Regions from separate parts of the Homo sapiens genome. Here all the other regions are linked to region 2. The links are contacts of gene promoters, found by promoter capture Hi-C in blood cells and fetal thymus (Javierre and others, 2016). All regions are on one chromosome and are shown on one strand. The core of a region is centred on a gene start or on the middle of the fragment in contact, and the rest is flanking DNA. Distances in the headings are between cores, read along the strand shown.

Region 1 (3,047 bases), core at 1-2,500, 490 kb before region 2:
GACTCCATGCCTAGTAAGAAGAGCCAACAAATCTGACTCCGTAATTCTTGCTAAGTAAAGAAACCTGAGCTGTCTAAGCTGAATGTATCTGTGACCCGGTTGACTAGGTAATATGCCATGATTCACTTCTGCAGTAGCCTGGCTTGCCTCCCCTGGGTCACTGTGACTCTGTCATGCCCCTGAGCATGGGAGAGGTTGACATCATGCACACATGCACATGTGCTAGATTGTAGATCTGTAGTAGTGCCACGGTGTCTGCCTCTGTAGTCCCAAGAAGACCAGCATTCTCTCTGCAAAGTGAAAGGAGCTCTCACCAGCCACTAGTGGTATGAAAAGCAGAACTCTTTTGTCCACAAGGCTGATGCCCCTTAGCTAAGTGGCCTGTGGTTTTGGCATTTACTTTATGACAGGAGGGAGAATAGTGTTTTGATCCATTTCTTATAAGCAGGTTATTTGTATAATTCTAAAGCTTTTAACTCAAGGAAACATTAACGGCTTAGAGAATCCCAAACCCCTCGAAATTATATGCACAATGTTAGAGACTACATGTGAGCATTTTTTTGGAGAGAGGTCCGTAGCTTTCATGAAGTTCTTAGAGGGGTCCATTATGTTGTGTCTTCTTTCCCTGGAGCTTCAGGGTCTGTCAGAGAAGACTGTGAAGAGAGTAGCAGCCTTCAGCAAGTCCTTGGCCACATGACACATGTGAGAACACCCCACAAATCGGTGGGTTAGCCGGTGGAAAGGAGTCCCAGCATCTTCCCTGGTTTTTAATTCCTGGCCTCAAGCAATCCTCCCTCCATAACCTCCCAAAGTGCTGGGATTACAGGCGTGAGACACCATGCGCAGCCAGATATTTTTTATTGTTGTTGTTTTTTTTTGGAAAAGGAGTTTCACTCTTGTTACCCAGGCTGGAGTGCAATGGCACGATCTCGGCTCACTGCAACCTCTGCCTCGCAGGTTCAAGAGATTCTCCTGTCTCAGCCTCCCGAGTTGCTGGGATTACAGGCATGCACCACCATGCCCAGCTAATTTTGTATTTTTAATAGAGACAAGGTTTCTCCATGTTGGTCAGGCTGGTCTCAAACTCCCGACCTCAGGTGATCCACCCACCTCGGCCTCCCAAAGTGCTGGGATTACAGGCGCGAGCCACTGCACCTGCCCAGCCAGATTTTTTTTTAAAAAGCAGGTTAACCTGTTTATTATTCCTACTTTACAGATGGAGAAAGTGAGACAGAGGGATTAAATAACTTGCCCAGGGTTTCACAGCTGGCAAGTGGCAGAGTTAGGATTTGGACCCAGGTAGTCTTGCTCCTCTATTGTGTATGGACTACTGTTCTAGGTCCCTGCTGTCCTAAAACTTGCTTTCTAGCAAGGTGGAATGTATTAAACAACCAAGTGAGGAAGTCGTTGTTGTCCTTGGCCATGGTAAGAGATACAGAGAAGTGCAGGGTGCCACAGGAGTGTCTAACAGAGGAGGTCAGGGGCAGCATCCCTGAGAAGGTGAAGCATGAGCGAGAGTGGGAAGATGAGTCGAAAGTAGCCAGCTGAGGGGTAGAGAGGAGAAAGAACATCCAGGCAGGGAGAATAGCAAGTGCTAAAGCCGGGGCTCATGAAAAGGCATGGGAGCAGGACAAAGTCCGTGTGGTAGAGGTGCGGAGAGTGGTGTTAAGATGAAGGGGAGAGGCAGGCAGAGCCCTGGGCAGATGAGCAACCAGGGCTTAGTGGATCACAGTTAGGACTTTGGGCTTCAGCCACAGAGCAGCGGTGGGCTACTGAGATTTTTTAAAGCAATAGTGTGACAATCAGATTTGTCCTTTTTTTTTTTTAAAGATGCTTTGACAACCTTGTGAAGAAAGAATTGAAGGGAAGCAAAAGGTGTTGTAGAGAGACCAATTAAAAGGTTGTCACAGTAGTTCATGCCAGAGATGATGGTGGCATGGCCTAGCATGACGGTGGTAGAAATGGAGGGAAGTGGTAAGAGGTAAAATCAACAAGACTTGCCGATGGGCTGGATGTCGGAATTGGGGGAAGAAAGCTTTCTGGCCTGAGTAACTGGGTGAATGAAGGTACACTTCTCTAAGACAGAGAATGCTGGAAAAGAACCACGTTCATGGATATTGAGTTCAATTTGTGTGTACTAAATTTGGGGTGACTATGAGACCCCTAAGTGGAGAAGTAGAGTGTGAAGCTGGCTGTATGGATATGGTACTGCATGAGAGGTTTTGGCTAGAGAAACACATGTAGGATTTGTCAGCATATAGAACCCTCAGCAGAGCCCCAGATAGGGATGAGGTTGCCTGGGGAGAGGGGAGTGGGGAGGGGAGGGGGGAACTGGGGGAGGATTGTGCTATGCTTAGAGGCCACCTGAGTGGACATGGGAGATTCCTTCTCACGGAGCTAAGTGACAGCTGCGGCTCAGAAGAATGCCCTTGATGTGAAAAGGAGATACCCCAAGTTCAGAGTAGAAATGCAGTGTATTTTTCTGGGTCAGCTGTGTCATGGGTCAGCTTAAGAACCTTCTTGCCATGTGACACAATGATTACCTGAGGAAAGCATTTAAGTTCCAAAAGGTCTATTCCCAGGGAAACTGGAAACAAAATTTGTGAGTGTGTTTAGGACCACTTTAGTCTACAGAAGGGCTAATATAGTGTTTTTCAAACCTTTCTAAACATTTTGGCCACAGAACTTTCATTAAAGTAGGATAATTTAAGTCTAGTAAATGAAATACACCCTAAGTGGCTAAAAGTATGGCTGTTCTGCCTGCAGCCCCTGCCTTCAATTCCCAATGCCCTGCCTCAAGCCTGTCTGTGCCCCCTTGGAAGGCCCAGGGCCCTGTGGGATGGACAGCTTCTGAGTGCATTACTTCTGAGTAAACCAGTTCTAAAACCTAAGCTAAGTAGATTACCTGAAAGCAATCAATTCATGCCCTAACTTGTCTAGGACATCAATGTAACTTTTTATATAGTATAAAGGTTTCACCTTCTTTCTGGCCTATGAATATGTCTGAAATTCAAGAGCAATTAAAGTACTCCTGGGTTGTCAAAGCC
Region 2 (2,878 bases), core at 123-2,622:
GCGAATTTACAAATTTGGGTGAGAAAGTCACAATTGGCATAGAAGTTCCAGAAAGCAGAAAACCATTAGGTCTCTCAGTCCTCCCAGGTGGCTGGGTACAGAATACGTACTTGGAGTACTGGAATTGTATTTGCGATGTTCTTAAAAGAGGACACCGCCTTTAACCTTGACTTATTTTTAAATGTAACATACTGATGTCCTTACTTTGGTCTGCACACTCATCTATACATATTTTGGTTGAAAGGTTTTGGGATGTTTGCAGATGCTATAAAATAAATGAACGTTTTATTATTATTCATCCAAATGGTGGTAGAATTTGCCACAATATTTCTGTCCTTACCTGTATTTCTGTTCTTGCCTTGGAGCTGAGACCAGGCTAGACATTATGGTTTAAAAAAATGAGGCAAAGGAGCACCATGAAAAGCTGAAATGAGGGGATATTCAGCGCCACCCCGAAGGAGACTATGCTGGAAGAGTCAGCCTACACTCATAGTGCAAGATACGAAGCCAGTTTGTGCAGTACCTACATGAGAAAACTAAGGTATGTCTGCAAAATACAAGTTGACTGCCTGCCGAGCCTCCGTGGTCCGTAAGTAGTGTTATAAAACACAGCCAACTGTTGAATGAGAGCTTAGTCCTAGATAAAATATGGCCAGCAATTCCATTAACAAAACACTGACAAGACACCTCAGGGCGAGCTGTACATTGACAACAGCATCGTCAAGCAGAATGCACTTCAGGGAAAACATAATAAGGCCTCTCACCCGACTTTCCTTGCTTCTCACGTGGGGAGAAGAAAGAACTGGGGCATCGTGATTCCCCCCACCCCACGCAAACCATCTGGGGAGGACGCTGGCTGCTGTCGAGGCGGCCTCAGCATTCATCAATTGACGATTATTTGATTATTTTTGTGGCTGAAACTGACGAAACGTTTGTATTATCTCTTGGGAACGTTAACAGCCTGCCAGGGGACTCTAAAACAGAGTCCAAGAGAAGCCTTCGATGTGTGTCCCTGATTTTGGTGCTGGGGTCGCTCATGGCCTGAAAATAACGAAGCCCCCTTTGAGCTACTGGCCAAGGCCAAATGAAACCTCGTGCTCCTCTGCTGTGGGGCGGCCCGGCCTCGGGGCTCAGAGGCGCTCTGTCTACAGCTGGGAAGACTCGCAGGCCCCAAGCTCCTGGCCAGCGCTGCCCCGGAGGTCGGCAGGCCCCTTCCTCGTCACCTTTTTGTTCCCTCCCCCGCCTCCCGCATTCGGCCGCTTCCTGACTGGGATTCCACAGAAAAGCCGAGGGCTGAGGAGAAGTGTGAGCGCCTCCGCCTGTCCACTGTCCCCCAAAGTCAGTTCAATCCCCGACGTCCTCCGCTAGGCTCCACCCCACCGGCCCGGGCAGGGCCTCCAAGGCACCTCCCACCTACGGGTCACCCAGTCAGCCCACTTCTTTCTGGGACAAAGGCGTCATCCCTTAGAGACAGTAGGAAAATGGTATCTCCCGGAAGTTACCTCACGACCTCCAAGAGCGGCTTCCAACCTTGCCGGAAATGACGAACGAGTCAACCGGATCGGTGACTGTGGAGGGCGAGCTGAGCCCTGTGCGTGAGTGGGGTCTGGTTGTGCAGTGTTCGTGGACCCTGGGAGGCTAGGGGCGCCCCGCTGGGCTGGGAAAGGATAAGGAGTGCAGGGGCAGGAGTCTGGGGTTGGGGATGGACCCCCGCGGGGACTGCGGCGCTTCGCGAAAGCGAGCCAAGCGCCTGTCCACCCTCGGTCCTGCAGGGCCGCCGCCACAATGGGCCGCGAGTTTGGGAATCTGACGCGGATGCGGCATGTGATCAGCTACAGCTTGTCACCGTTCGAGCAGCGCGCCTATCCGCACGTCTTCACTAAAGGAATCCCCAATGTTCTGCGCCGCATTCGGGAGTCTTTCTTTCGCGTGGTGCCGCGTGAGTGCCTTGGGCCCGCGGGAGCGGGAGGCTGGACCCCAGCAGCAGCAGCAGTCACTGCGCCTCCCCTCTGAGCGCTGGCGGCCGGGCAGGCGCTCTGTAACTTGCCGTACACACCTTTCTCATTGAATATTCCTGACCGCCCTTAAGCTGGTCATATTATCCTCCCCATCTTACACGGGGAAAACTGAGCTACAGAACTGAAATGACTGGCCCAAGGTCACTCGGGTGATTCCAGCATGTTCCTCTGAGGTCACCTTTATTTAGTTCTTACCAGTGGTGAAATGCTTTGTGTTAAACGTGCAGCAGATAGTGATGATAGTTGCATGGCCTTGGATATGCTAAGAACTACTGAAGTGTATGCTTTAAAGAAGACAAGAGGACTGAGACCTTTTTTTTTCTTCTATATGTCTTATATGTGTGCTCTCTGTTTACTCTCTTAATTTTTAAAGAGTTTGTAGTGTTTTATCTTATCTACACATGGGGGACTGAAGAGTTCGAGAGATCCAAGAGGAAGAATCCAGCTGCCTATGAAAATGACAAATGAGCAACGCATCCGGATGACGGTTCCCTGTCTCTGAAAGACCTTTCTCTGGAAGAGGAGTCTGCATTGTAGTGTCTCAAAGACACAATAAACTTCCTATGGTCTGCACTGTTGTGATATTACATTTTTGTGAGTAGAATCCTGTGTGACCACTAATATTCAAGTTCATGAAGCGCCCCTCCTCAGCATGAGTCTTGAAGTTTTGCCTGGTCTCGGGTTTTGGTGAAAGAGCAGGGCTCCCCCTTTGTTCCATTATCTACAAGAAAGTAGCTGCAGGTACTCCTGCATCTAACCATTTGTGGGTGACATGGGCTATGGCGAGTGCTGGTTCTTGGCCCTCTGCTCCCATAGCAACAATAAAGTCTACTAACTATATTGTAATTAGTATGTGTCAG
Region 3 (3,158 bases), core at 461-2,960, 310 kb before region 2:
ATTATAAGTGAAATGAGCCAGTCACAAAAAGATAAATACTGTATGATTCCACTTATATGAGGTACTTAGTAAAAAATTATAGAGACAGTAAGTAGAATGTTGGTTGTCAGGGTTTGGAGGATGTGGGGAGGAAAGGGTTATTGTTTAATGGGTAGTTTGTTTTGCAAAGTGAAAAGATTTGTAGAGGTTGAAAGGTGGTGACGGTTGTACGTGAGTATACTTAACACCACTGAAATGTACACTTGGTTAAGATAGTAAATTCTTTTTGAGACGGAGTCTCGCTCTGTTGCCCAGGCTGGAGTGCAGTGGTGCGGTCTCGGCTCACTGCAAGCTCCGCCTCCCGGGTTCATGCCATACTCCTGCCTCAGCCTCCTGAGTAGCTGGGACCATCGGCGCCTGCCACCATGCCCGGCTAATTTTTTGTGTTTTCAGTAGAGACGGGGTTTCACCGTGTTAGCCAGGATGGTCTTCATTTCCTGACCTCGTGATCCACCCGTCTCGGCCTCCCAAAGTGCTGGGATTACAGGCGTGAGCCACCGCGCCTGGCCAAGACAGTAAATTTTATGTGTATTTTACAATTTTTAAAATAAAAAAAGGTCTTTCGTCTTTTCCCATTGTTTTATTACATTTGCTTTGCCAAGTAAGACATTCCTATATAATTTTAATGTTTTGTTCCATTAGTTATTTTAACTATTTTGTAATAACTGACACTTTCCGGTTTTTTTTAACCTGGTACAGCAAGAGACTATTTCTCACTGGTCTTCCCCACTTGCATCCTTTGGCACATACATTTATGTATTAGGTTCTGTAAATTATTTGCTTGGGATTGTATGACTGGAGAAACATTTCCTACATTTTTCCAAGGCAGGCAGAGGCAAATTATACCACTACAGTAATTCCAAATTTGTGTTTCATTTAAATGTCCTCCACTATTGTTTCAGTAATTTTTATGTATGTTTCTCTAGGCCCTTAAATGTGATATCCCTCCATTAAGTTTGTTTCCAAGAAAGCAATATTCTCAGTTACTTCTGAGACAGGTAACTTCTCTTTCCCTTATTTTTAAAGATATCTATTGCTGGGAGCACTGATCGGAATGGATTACCTCTACATTCTTCATATTTGCAGACTGCTTTTAGTTTTAGTTCCCAGACTTTTGGTCTTAAAGACGCCTTTACACTAAAAAATTACGGGGGACCTCAAAGAGCGTGTACGTGAGTTATAATTATCAACATTTACTCAATTAGAAATTAAAATTGGTATTTCTAAGCGCAAGAATACACATGCGCACATTCCATTAACCGCCACTGCAATGGCGTCATCACATGTTATGTGATCACTGGAAATTACTACACGAACGTTAGAGAGAGAATGAGAATGAAAAGGAAAATAGTTTTGACACGAACTGACCCCGCTTCCTGGGTCTCCAATCCACCCCACCACTACCCCCATTCCAGGAGTCCCAGGATCAAGCTTTGGGAAGCGCCATCCGTCACAGGTCTTGGTCTCCCCTTCCAAAAGTCAGTGCCTCTCCAGGCTGCCCATCCCCAGCAAAGATCCGGAAGTCCGCTGCCCCTGGCAACAGCACCCAGCACCTAGCCCTCTGCTTCGCCGTACCGCACCCGGAAGTCGGAGCTGCGCACGCACCGCGGGACTCTGATTTCCCGGCGTGCCCCAGGAGAGCGGCGTGGACGCGTGCGGGCCTAGAGGCCCACGTGATCCGCAGGGCGGCCGAGGCAGGAAGCTGTGAGTGCGCGGTTGCGGGGTCGCATTGTGGCTACGGCTTTGCGTCCCCGGCGGGCAGCCCCAGGCTGGTCCCCGCCTCCGCTCTCCCCACCGGCGGGGAAAGCAGCTGGTGTGGGAGGAAAGGCTCCATCCCCCGCCCCCTCTCTCCCGCTGTTGGCTGGCAGGATCTTTTGGCAGTCCTGTGGCCTCGCTCCCCGCCCGGATCCTCCTGACCCTGAGATTCGCGGGTCTCACGTCCCGTGCACGCCTTGCTTCGGCCTCAGTTAAGCCTTTGTGGGCTCCAGGTCCCTGGTGAGATTAGAAACGTTTGCAAACATGTCCCGGATCGAAAAGATGAGCATTCTGGGCGTGCGGAGTTTTGGAATAGAGGACAAAGATAAGCAAATTATCACTTTCTTCAGCCCCCTTACAATTTTGGTTGGACCCAATGGGGCGGGAAAGACGGTAAGTCTTCAGTAGCCGCCTTCAGTTTACAGGTCGCTACATCTTTCGGAGAATAAAATGGGAAGTTGAGAACTCTCCTTAGGAGCAGAAGCGTCCCTAGGGCTCCACAGGTGTAGGCCCTTAAAGTGCCTTAGGGTGTGGCCTGCAGGCTACAGCGACCTTAGGAGTTTGCCTGAAGCAGTCTCGGAAGGATGTCCGGACCTGGCCTGGGGACAAGGTTTACTTAAGAATCCCACGATACCGGGAGCTGTCGCCGCTCACTCAGAGTTCAGTTCCCACTGGATGCCCTTTGGTCTGTATTGATGTTTTTAACGCTGTCTCCTTGCTTTCAAAGCATAGCATTCACTTCCCAGTAGTTGTCCCATACAAGAATTCCTTTAAAAGTTATAAAATGATACATACATGACTAAAGAGTTTCCAAGTATGCCAACTGTCCAGACATAATACATGGAAAATAAATAAATTCAAAATGTAACTGATGTAGTGGGGCTTAACTTGGAAAACTTCTCTTCTTAAAACTCAGTCAAAAATTTAACGTTGGTGCACGACTGACTTTTTTTTTTTTTTAAAGCCGTGGGAATATTTATAAATTTGAATGGAAAGAATAACCAAGAGGCATTCTGGTCAGGAATAGTGGCTTAAGAAAAAGCAAGACGATGTCAGTATAGCAGGGAGAAGAGTCTAAAGGAAGGATTTGTGAAGAGTGTAGAAAGAGAGAAGGTTGAGAATTGAATGCCAAACTTGTTTACTTTTGTTTTTGTAAAAATGTTATTTGTTGAATGCTTGTTATGTACTTAGGATTGTACTAAATACTAGCAGAAGGGAGAGTAGTACTGTATAGTGTTTATGAGGACTGGCTGCCTCAATACAGCTTTTTCGCTTCATTTATTAGTTGTCTGATTGTTTGCGAGTGACCTCACTGCTCTGTGCCTTAGTTTTCTCATTTATAAAATGGAGATTAAAAATAGTTT

What was found. The method cuts DNA at HindIII sites, captures the fragments that hold promoters and counts their contacts. A CHiCAGO score of 5 or more calls a contact.
Region 1: a fragment that was not itself captured here is called in contact with the fragment with the promoter of GDF9 in region 2 in 8 of 17 cell types (M0 macrophages, monocytes, M1 macrophages and 5 more); the score reaches 10.3 in M0 macrophages.
Region 3: the fragment with the promoter of RAD50 here is called in contact with the fragment with the promoter of GDF9 in region 2 in 2 of 17 cell types (fetal thymus and erythroblasts); the score reaches 6.2 in fetal thymus.

Annotation. Positions count from the first base shown.
Region 1 is chr5:132,378,623-132,381,669 of GRCh38, forward strand. All of the region lies in intron 2 of SLC22A5 (solute carrier family 22 member 5), which reads left to right. Among named protein-coding and RNA genes, the nearest start is that of MIR3936HG, 10 kb to the left of the region's middle. The HindIII fragment of the contact is 1,566 bases long and covers 468-2,033 here.
Region 2 is chr5:132,865,097-132,867,974 of GRCh38, forward strand. GDF9 (growth differentiation factor 9) reads right to left here and starts at 1,373. Exons shown (of 2, transcript NM_005260.7): 1 at 1-1,373. It overlaps UQCRQ (ubiquinol-cytochrome c reductase complex III subunit VII), which reads left to right and starts at 1,546. Exons shown (of 3, transcript NM_014402.5): 1 at 1,546-1,591; 2 at 1,773-1,939; 3 at 2,392-2,878. The coding sequence starts at 1,786. The coding sequence ends at 2,486. RefSeq lists enhancers at 825-2,024, 883-1,383, 1,384-1,884. The HindIII fragment of the contact is 4,688 bases long and covers 1-2,878 here.
Region 3 is chr5:132,555,267-132,558,424 of GRCh38, forward strand. RAD50 (RAD50 double strand break repair protein) reads left to right here and starts at 1,711. Exons shown (of 25, transcript NM_005732.4): 1 at 1,711-2,187. The coding sequence starts at 2,059. It also overlaps a transcript of IL5 not described here. RefSeq lists an enhancer at 1,334-1,994. The HindIII fragment of the contact is 3,439 bases long and covers 1,469-3,158 here.